3 separate regions of the Homo sapiens genome follow, and all the other regions are linked to region 1. Evidence: promoter capture Hi-C in 16 types of primary human blood cells and fetal thymus (Javierre and others, 2016). All regions are on one chromosome and are shown on one strand. The core of a region is centred on a gene start or on the middle of the fragment in contact, and the rest is flanking DNA. Distances in the headings are between cores, read along the strand shown. Region 1 holds the start of SLC35D2 (solute carrier family 35 member D2). Region 2 holds the start of FANCC (FA complementation group C). Region 3 holds the start of TDRD7 (tudor domain containing 7).

Region 1 (3,273 bases), core at 256-2,755:
CCAAAATGACCGATTTCCTGTTTAACTTGAATATGGATTCATTTTCTCTTTTAAAACGGACTTAACATGTCTTTTCTTTCTTGTTTTGGGTAACTTGGGCACTTCTGGTCTTTTTAATGCTAGCTAATTTTCACGAGTTCTGCTTTAGTTCTTATCAGGGCTGAAAATGTTTCCCAGTTTTCATTCTCCTGGTTGTTTAGTGCCTAAGGGTAGAAAAACAATTCTCTGGGCATCTATATAGTTAGGCCCCAACTTTTATTTAACTTGAAATCTTAAGCTTTTCTAAGAAGCTAAAAGTTCATATATATATATATATATAATATACATTATATATTAAATATATAATATATATATTTTTGAGACGGAGGCTTGCTCTGTCGCCCAGGCTGGAGTGCAGTGGCGCGATCTCGCCTCACTGCAAGCTCTGCCTCCCGGGTTCACGCCATTCTCCTGCCTCAGCCTCCTGAGTAGCTGGGACTACAGGCGCCCGCCACCACGCCCGGCTAATTTTTTTTGTATCTTTAGTAGAGACGGGGTTTCACCGTGTTAGCCAGGATGGTCTCGATCTCCTGACCTCGTGATCTGCCCGCCTCGGTCTCCCAAAGTGCTGGGATTACATGTGTGAGCCACCGCGCCTGGCCAAAAGTTCATATTTTTTAAAGACTGACAAGGGTAGGCGGTTCTGGGAAGCTGTCCTTCAACTGACCTGACCCGAAGGCAAACGGCCCTCCGCGAGGAATGCACCTACCACAAAGCACCCAGAGGACACCCAAGTCCCAAGGCTTCACCCACCTTACTCCTAGCCACTCCACTCCTAGATATTTATTTAAGAGAAATGAAGACACAGGTCCCACAAACGCCCACGAATTTTCATGGAAGCATTTTTCCTAATGGTCCTAAACTGGAAACAACCAATGGATACACAATTTGTGATACTATTCAACGATTAAACAAACCACATGGTCGAGTCCAAAGCATAGAGTGAAAACCCCTGAGACCACATGCTCATTCATAAATTCTAGAAAGCACCCTGTTTATTTGAAATTCCGGAAAAGGCAAACCTAACCTACAGCAATAGTCATCGATGAGATGCGGGCGTTAACTTCAAAGGGGCAGCAAGGGGAATTTTTGGGGCGATGGAAATGTTGTTTTGAGTAGTTACTCCTGTGGATGCCTTTGTCGAAGCTCATCTCAAACTATGGACTGGCAAGATGTGTACACTTCATTGTATGTAAATTATACACTAAACAAAAAAGTTGTAGGGAAAAAAAAAAAAAAGCAAAACAAGCCCTGAGACTTACTGAAGCGTTTCTTTCCAGGAAAGCCTGGAGGAAGGCAGCGCTTTTCAACTCCCCAGCGCATTGCCGGCCCTGGAGACCGAAGGAGGTGCCTGGAACCAGGGTGAAGTCCAGCGCGCAGGGTCCTCCCGCGCCGGCCTCGGGCGCTCGCAGGGGGCGGGTCGGGACCTGGGATTGCGCCGGGCTCTTCCTGTTCCTGCCGCGCCCTCTTCCCCGGCCCGGCCGGGCGGGACCAGTGCGCAGCCGGGGCTGGCGGGCGGCGGGGTCCGCGGGGCCGCAGGAGATGACGGCCGGCGGCCAGGCCGAGGCCGAGGGCGCTGGCGGGGAGCCCGGCGCGGCGCGGCTGCCCTCGCGGGTGGCCCGGCTGCTGTCGGCGCTCTTCTACGGGACCTGCTCCTTCCTCATCGTGCTTGTCAACAAGGCGCTGCTGACCACCTACGGGTGAGGCGGGGCCCGGGGCCGGGGGGTCTGCGGGAGTGCGGGGCTGCCCCTGTCCTCCGTGCGCTTCAGCGGCGCCCGGGACAGGGCGGGTGGGGACAGGGACCCTCGAGTCTCAGCTGGGCACATTGGTCGAGTTTCCCAGGCGCCCTCCAGAACTCGCTCAGCTTTCTACACTCAGGCCACAACCTGAGAAAGTCGTTCTCTTCCTGAGCGCGCCTGCCCTGCTGCGAGGCGCCCTGTCCTAGGTGGGCTGGTAGAGCTCAGACAGATTCTTTCATACACCCAGCGAGCTGAAAACAGGGATTCAAATGCCTGCTTCAAAGGACGCAATTCCTTACACAGATCTCCATGTTCAACGGTCAGGTACTCCTGAGCCAGTAAGTCTGTATTGATTGACTGTTCATTCTCAGATGACCAGCGTGTTCATGGAAAACTCGGGAAAACAATTGGAAGTTCATATGGAGTACTTTTTTGGATTAGTGTGAAGTAAACGCAAATTTGTGCTGCCTTGAACCTATTTGTAAGGACTAGAAAATCCTGCTTAATTCTGCTACCATTGTAGCGGCACTGAGAAAATTGTGGATTTAGACCCAGCTCCACCGGTTAACACCTGTCTTTTTGGACCAGTCTCACAGTCAGCAATTTTTTTCAGATGCAAAAAACCTGAATGATTACAATCGTGTTAATTACCCTCCAGGGCTCTGCACGAGCTGTTATATGTGAAGGCTCTTTGTAAACTCTACTATGTTACAAGAATATGCCATCAACATTTTAGAGCCCAAAGAGACCTAGAGTGTCTTAGTTAGAGAGTATCTTAGAGTATCAGCTTTCTTTTTTTATATATACATACAGATTCAGCTTATGTGGGTCTCACTTTTCTCGAATATAAAATACGAAAGCTGAGGCTGGCTGAGGTGGTTTGCACCTGTAATCACAGCATTTGGGAGGCCAAGGCAGGCATATATATATATATATATATAGTGTGTGTGTGTGTGTGTGTGTGTGTGTGTATAATATTTTTTTGAGACAAGGTTTCACTCTGTTGCCTAGGCTGGAGTGTAGTGACACAATCATGACTCACTGCAGCCTCGACCATCTGGGTTCAAGCAATCCTTCTGCTGCAGCCTCCAGAGAAGCTGGGACCATAGGTGTGCACCACTGCACCGGCAATTTTTTTGATTTTTTGTAGAGGTGGGGTCTCAGTGTGTTTCCAAGGCTGGTCTAGGCCTGCTTTGGCCTCCCAAAGTGCTGTGATTACAGGTGCAAACTATCTCATCCAGCCTCACCTTTCTTATTTTATATTCGAGAAAACTGAGGCCCACATAAGCTCGATTGGTTGTACCTCCAACAGATATTTATTAAGCACCTACTAAATACTGAGCCCATTGCAAGCACCAGGGAAGCCTCTGTGAACAGCACAAGGTCCCTGCTCTGGAGATTCTGCTTCAGTGGTGGAGACAGAAAATAAACAGGTAGGTTCATGAATAAACGAGACACTTTCAGATCTGATGTGAGAGTGCCTGGGCTGGAGTAG
Region 2 (3,273 bases), core at 277-2,776, 1.1 Mb after region 1:
TAGTTTCGAGAATGGATGTAAACACCGAATTCCTTAATGTAGTTGCAGATTCTGCCAGTTTTGTCTCAACCTCTGGATCGGTTCCTTTTTTTAACTACCTTTAATTCTTAAACAGATTGTTGCTATTGCTATGCTATATACTTATTGTATCACTTATAAATGTATAACCTCTGCAAATTAGTCTCTGAATTGAAAGTATTCATTGGTAAAACGGGTATTTCTTCACCATAGGAATAGTTGGACATGTTTAAATACTTGAGAGCTATTTTTATTACAAGCACACACAGCTTTGTGGTGTTTTTTGTTGAGACAGAGTCTCGCTCTGTTGCCCAGGCTGGAGTGCAGTAGTGCGATCTTGGCTTACTGCAACCTTCGCCTCCTGGGTTCAAGCAATTCTCCTGCCTCAGCCTCCTAAGTAGCCGGGAGTACACACTAATTTTTGTATTTTTAGTAGAGACGGGTTTTTGCCATGTTGGCCAGGCTGGTCTCAAACTCTTGACCTCAGGTGATCCACCCGCCTCAGCTTCCCAAAGTGCTGGGATTAGAGGTGTGAGCCACCGCGCCCGGCCTGTAGTGTGTTTTTGAACGTATATGTGAAGTTGTAGCTTTTTTTTTTTTTTTTTTGAGACGGAGTCTCCCTCTGTCGCCAGGCTGGAGTGCAGTGGCGCGATCTCGGCTCACTGCAACCTCTGACTCCCTGGTTCAAGCTATTCTGCCTCAGCCTCCAGAGTAGCTGAGATTACAGGCGCCCGCCACCGCGCCCGGTTAAACGTTTTGTATTTTTAGTAGAGACGGCGTTTCACCATGTTGGCCAGAATGGTCTCGATCTTCTGACCTCGTGATCCGCCCGCCTTGGCCTTCCAAAGTGCTGGGATTACAGGCCTGAGACACAGCGCCCGACCTAAGCTGTAGTTTTATGATTATGATTTATGGTTGTGAGGCATTGATTTAAGACATTTTAAAGCTTAAGTCGTCAGATCCTAGAAGAAAAAAAAATTCACCAAGACAAGCTAATGCCATTGTCATAAATGGGAGTTTGGAGAAAATTTTATTAATATTTGTTTGGGTGGTTTATGTACAGCGTTGAACTGATTTGAACCCCGACCAAACACTGTATGGAACTAATGTACGGTAGGGGAAATCATTAACTGAAGATGCCTTTTTTGTTGCTATTGTTTAGAACGCAGTTAGAAAATCTTATTTTAGAGGTTTTACCCCGTTGACAAAGCCTCAACTTTTCTTCAAAAGAACTAATTTCCATTTTACCTCCCCTACATTTTGAACAGAATATGGAAGAAGCCAGCGCCCCTTCTCCGCGGGCGCTGCTGCAACCCTGCTCCCGCCGGGGCTTCCGCGCGAAACCGGGAACACTGGAGCAGTACCGACTCCGCTCGCCTAGAACCCGCCCCAGCCGGGCCCACTTCCGCCAGAGCCCTGGCCGCGCCCGCCCCGCCCCACGGACCCGAGATTCGTCGGAATTTTCCCGCGACGCCGCGGGAGCGCGCGGGGCCGCTAGCCAGGCCCCAGAATGCACTGCTGACACGTGTGCGCGCGCGCGGCTCCACTGCCGGGCGACCGCGGGAAAATTCCAAAAAAACTCAAAAAGCCAATACGAGGCAAAGCCAAATTTTCAAGCCACAGATCCCGGGCGGTGGCTTCCTTTCCGCCACTGCCCAAACTGCTGAAGCAGCTCCCGCGAGGACCACCCGGTAAGCGGCAGGCCGCAGAACGCAGCGAGGGCGGAGGCTTCCCTCGGGGGTCTGGCCGACACGTCAGCGGCGAGAGCGGGAGGAGGAGGCGAGGGGCAAGAGGGAAGGCTCGCGAGAGCGGGTGGGCCAGGCGCGCCTTGCGGTGGGCGAGAGGGGTTCCCGCCGGCGCAGGGCTGTGGCTAAGGCTGAGGCGGGAGGCGGGAGGCGGGAGGCGGAAGGTGGCGGGCGGTGCCAGCCCGCGGGGCGGGGCCAGGGCGGGGAAAGCGGGGGCGGGAGCCGGCGCTGGGGTCGCGCGGAAGGGAGCCCCCGGAGAGGCGGGAGCCGGGTGTTGGCGTTTTGGTTCTTTTTGTTCATTGAGCGCAGGCAGCTATGTCTTCTTCAAAGGAGAGGAGCAAAGGTGAATTTCTCTGCCTCGGACTCGTGGGAGCCGTGAAAAGCTCGCCCCTTTGAGCCGGTCGCCCTCTACAGCTGGCCTCGTCCTCCCCGTCCCTCACACCCCTGCCCCCAAACCCCATTCGCCGGGGCGCCAGGAGGGGCGAGGTCCAATTAGAGGAGCCCGGGGCGCGGCTGTTACCCCTCCCGCCCTCCGCCTTTTATTCCCGGAGGGAGGCGGGTTCGCAGAGGCCAGTGTCTTCCCTCCATTCTTTTTGTGGACGCCAGGCCATATCTTCAAAGCCCGTGAGAGATTTTTCAGGTGCTGTTTGTTGGTTTGCTCTTTTTAATTTTTTAGGTGGGTGCGTTTACAACTACGAACCCTCTATGATCTTATGTGTCCAGCGCACCGAATGGGGGAAAAGACTTGGAGTTTTATAACATGGGAAATTGGGTACCAGAATCTTAAGGGAAGAGACCAAGGAGTTTTCTAGCAAAGTCCTGTATGTGCCTGGACTTTTGTTCTAATCTGAAACTTGGAAAACTCCCGGGCATCTGATTTTATTCTAACTTGTGCCCCATTTAATGCATCTAAACTGTGATGTGATTTGACTTAGCATTTATCAAATGAGCAGAGCACTTTTGGGCCACCCAACTTCAGCTCTTTGTGGCTGTCACTCACTGTCAGTGATATGCCCTCAGACAGATCGTTTTCTCCTTACTCCCCTGAAAGGTTGTTACAAACAGTAGAATTCATACCATGTGTTGAGATCATTCATTACCTAAGCTTAGATGGAAAACATGTTCATTGCGACTTTATACATTAAACTTGAATTGATGTTTCAATGTTATGTGCTGTACCAGAGTCACCTGGAAATAAGCACTCATATACATTATTCATATACAAGAAAGGCTGCATCGAAAAAGAATTTGTTTTCCTAGATATATCAGAGATCTTTTTCACCAACCCACTACTCCCAGTAATAGAGCCTGCTTCTTGAGAACTGGACTAATTATACTTTGTATATTATACATTCGAATTTATTTTTGCTTTATTCGGTCATATTTTCTCTTGATTTCTCCAAAAACGTTTACCAAGGCATCAGAAAAGAAAAGCAGGCTCTATATTGGTATTTTTTGTTTTGTCCTCTAATAAAAAGCATTAACTTGATTGATTGGCTGGTTGTGGAAG
Region 3 (3,273 bases), core at 370-2,869, 1.0 Mb before region 1:
AGGAGATGTGAGTGCTAATCCAGCTGGCCCCAGGGGCAATTCCCTATACCCAGAACAGTACTTTGCACGTAACTGATGCTCAATGAATGTCAGCTGAGAGGAAATGCAAAAATATCCACCATGTGCCCATTTATATTATATAGTAAACACAAAGATCTTTGTGTCCCTGCCCTCAAAAAACTAAAATCCAATTATGTAAAACATGGACCGTTTGTTGGGAGGAAGAGAGTGAATACTGCTTGGCAATTATTATGAGGCAAAGGATATACAGTGGTTATCTTGGAAAAGCCTTGCAAAGTAAGCCAGGTACCTCTATTTGACACATAGAAAACCAGGCTAAGAGAAAGCATGTAATTTGTTCAAGATCACACAATTTGTAAAATGAGAAGCCCAGATTTCAATCCAGGTCTGCAAAGTTCACATTATTTGCAGTATGCAACACATTCATACACATCAAGGCAGCCCAGGACGAGACAGGGATTTGGGTCCAAGTTTTACTTCTGCTATTAAGCTGTTGCCTATCTCTCTAGAGAGAACATTTCTCTGCATTTTTTTCACCGGCACGATTGGAGAGCAGAGAGGTGTTGGTAGGAGGGTTAATGAACTAGATCTGTGGTTTTTTGGTTTGGTTTGGTTTGGATGGGCGGTGATCAGAATTCTTCTGGGCCAGGACTTGTTCTAATGTGGTTGTTTCCCTTCCCTGCTCTTAGAAATTATTTGAGAATGGTACCTTTAGCTATTAATGGAAATATACCTCTCAAGTGAATGGGAGCAGAAAGATATGCCGGCTCCAAGCTCCCTCCTAGCAAGCTGAAGCTGAGAGTCTGACCCTGCTGAGGGGATGCTACTGAAAGTTGAGAGACAACTTACTCACGGATCCATGTTTCCCTCCCAGCTGGGTGCTCTGTACCCACTGGGTGCTCCTCGTTTGAGAGAAATGGGGATGTGTGTCCTGCATTACTTAAGCGGCCTGCCTGGGGCTCGTCTCCAGATTATAGAGACCTTCAAGAGAAGTTCGTGGTGTAAAATACTTGGGTTCAAATAGGGGAGCGCGGACATCCCTCGCTGGGGGCGGCGGCTGCGGCCTGTCGCGCCGGTAGCGGGAACCACTTCCTGGTCCGCATCTCCCGCCCGCGTCCACACCCCGCTGCTGCATTTCCCCCACGGCGCAGAGCTTCCGAGGCGGCAGGAGGCTCCGTCCGACTCCCGCGTGAACGCCCGGCCCGGAGCAGGGTCCCTTCAGAGATTTAAAACACAACGCTCTGGAACTCCAACTCCCCCGGCGCCCAGCCCGGTTCCCAGGCGTCGGGGCGGGGGCAATCCCCTGCGGCTGCAGGGAAAAGGCCCCGAGCCTGTTGGAGCCCCCGGCCCTGGCCGCGGTCCCACCGGTGACCCAGGTGCGCCGCGCCCGCCCGAAATCTCGTCCGACGTCGCCCGGCACCTGTCGCGCCCGGAGCCCGCAGGACCTGCACTCACCTCGTTCCGGGGGCCCACGGCCCGTCCCCGCGTCTCTGGGCCCAGCTCCTGCCGCCGTCTCCGCCAGGGGCCCCGCCGCGGCCGCCGCCCACTTTCGGTTTCCCCGCACCACCGGAGCCGCCCCGCGGCTTGGGAATCACCTCAAGCCCCCGCCCCGCCCTGCTCGGCCCCGCCCCGCTTCGCCCCGCCCCGCTTCGAGGGCAGCCTGGCCTCGGCTCTGCGCACGCGCGGGCGCTCCGGCCGCGTCGGCCCACGCCGGCGTCCGCGCGTGGGAAGGGAAACCGTCGCCACCTAGCGGTTTCTGCGCGTGCCCACGCACCGGCCGGCGGCGGAAGACGCCTGCGGGGCGGGTGCGGGAGCGCCTCCTGGTGGACAACGCAGGTACGCGCGGGCCGAGCGAGCCGGGACTCAGCAGGGGGCGAGGGTGGCTCCTTCTATGGGGCTCACCCTCCTTCCAAACAGTTCAACTCCTGCACATTATTTTCTTCAACATCTGGAGCAGTTACTTTTTATTGCCCTAGACACACACTCTGTCCGCCCATATCCTTCAGGCCTTTCTCAAGCATTACCCTTTCAATGACGGTGGACACAGTCTCTAACATGTCAACCTCCTTCCTTGACTTTCCCTATCCCCATTCTCAACCTTATTTCTCCTTAGCACCTATCTAGCACACTATATGTATTTTACTTATGCTTTTATTGTCTGCTATCCTTCTAAAATTAAAGCTCTGTGAGCACAAGGATTTTTGTTTGGTTCCTTAACCTATTCCCAGAGCCTAGGATAGTGCCTAGCACACGATCAGCAATAAATATCTGTCAAATTTATTCATTCACTCTAAAGTTATTGAACACCTAATAAGTGAATACTTATTTATTCTGCACATTAATTCCACCAACACTTATTGGCACCTGCTTTGCATCCCTGCAGCCAACATTGAACACTTCTCTGCACCATTGGATATGCATTTACTGAGAACCTGCTGCTTATTCAACCGGTATTTTATTACAGCTTGACTGCCATGTATAAGACATACAATAAACTGAACGTTTAAAATGTACAGCTTGATAAATTATGCATTTACTGAGAACCTGCTGCTTATTCAACCGGTATTTTATTACAGCTTGACTGCCATGTATAAGACATACAATAAACTGAACGTTTAAAATGTACAGCTTGATAAATTATGCATTTACTGAGAACCTGCTGCTTATTCAACCGGTATTTTATTACAGCTTGACTGCCATGTATAAGACATACAATAAACTGAATGTTTAAAATGTACAGTTTGATAAGTTTTGATATATATATATCACTGTGAGACCATCACTGCAATCAAAATCATGAACATATCCATCACCCAAAAAAGTTTTACTGTGATCCTTTGTAATTCTTATATCTTGTCCCTCCCTGTCACTTGCCCCCTCAACTGCTCACCTGCTTTCTGTTGCTATAGATTATTTTGCTTTTTCTAGAGTTATATGTAAAACTTTTATGTATGGAATCGTATGTACTATCCTTTGGGGGGCTGCCTGGCTTCTTTTATTTAGCAAATTATGTTCATCCATGTTGTTACATGTATCAATAGTTCATGTCTTTCTATTGCTGAATGGTATTGTAGGGATGTACCAAACCTACCACGCAACCCAGCAATTCTGCTCCTGGGTATTTACCCAGGAGAAATGAAAGCAGATGTCCACACAAAAACCTGTACAAGAGTGCTCATGGCAGTTGTGTTGGCCGTAGCCCCACATGGAAAGAATACAAACATCCGTCAGAAGGTGAATGGACAATCAACT

Evidence for each region. The method cuts DNA at HindIII sites, captures the fragments that hold promoters and counts their contacts. A CHiCAGO score of 5 or more calls a contact.
Region 2: a contact is called between the fragment with the promoter of FANCC here and the fragment with the promoter of SLC35D2 in region 1, in 3 of 17 cell types (M0 macrophages, M1 macrophages and naive CD8 T cells). The highest score is 12.6, in M0 macrophages.
Region 3: the fragment with the promoter of TDRD7 here is called in contact with the fragment with the promoter of SLC35D2 in region 1 in 1 of 17 cell types (neutrophils); the score reaches 6.0 in neutrophils.

The regions. Positions count from the first base shown.
Region 1 is chr9:96,381,943-96,385,215 of GRCh38, reverse strand. It overlaps SLC35D2 (solute carrier family 35 member D2), which reads left to right and starts at 1,505. Exons shown (of 12, transcript NM_007001.3): 1 at 1,505-1,739. The coding sequence starts at 1,582. SLC35D2-HSD17B3 (SLC35D2-HSD17B3 readthrough) reads left to right here and starts at 1,505. Exons shown (of 26, transcript NR_182427.1): 1 at 1,505-1,739. RefSeq lists silencers at 1,517-1,846, 1,857-1,906. The HindIII fragment of the contact is 17,441 bases long and covers 280-3,273 here.
Region 2 is chr9:95,315,962-95,319,234 of GRCh38, reverse strand. FANCC (FA complementation group C) reads left to right here and starts at 1,526. Exons shown (of 15, transcript NM_000136.3): 1 at 1,526-1,709. RefSeq lists a silencer at 1,855-2,174. The HindIII fragment of the contact is 1,904 bases long and covers 967-2,870 here.
Region 3 is chr9:97,410,442-97,413,714 of GRCh38, reverse strand. TDRD7 (tudor domain containing 7) reads right to left here and starts at 1,619. Exons shown (of 17, transcript NM_014290.3): 1 at 1,477-1,619. RefSeq lists enhancers at 773-1,032, 637-1,136, 1,137-1,638 and silencers at 974-1,268, 1,353-1,562, 1,583-1,932. The HindIII fragment of the contact is 7,534 bases long and covers 1-3,273 here.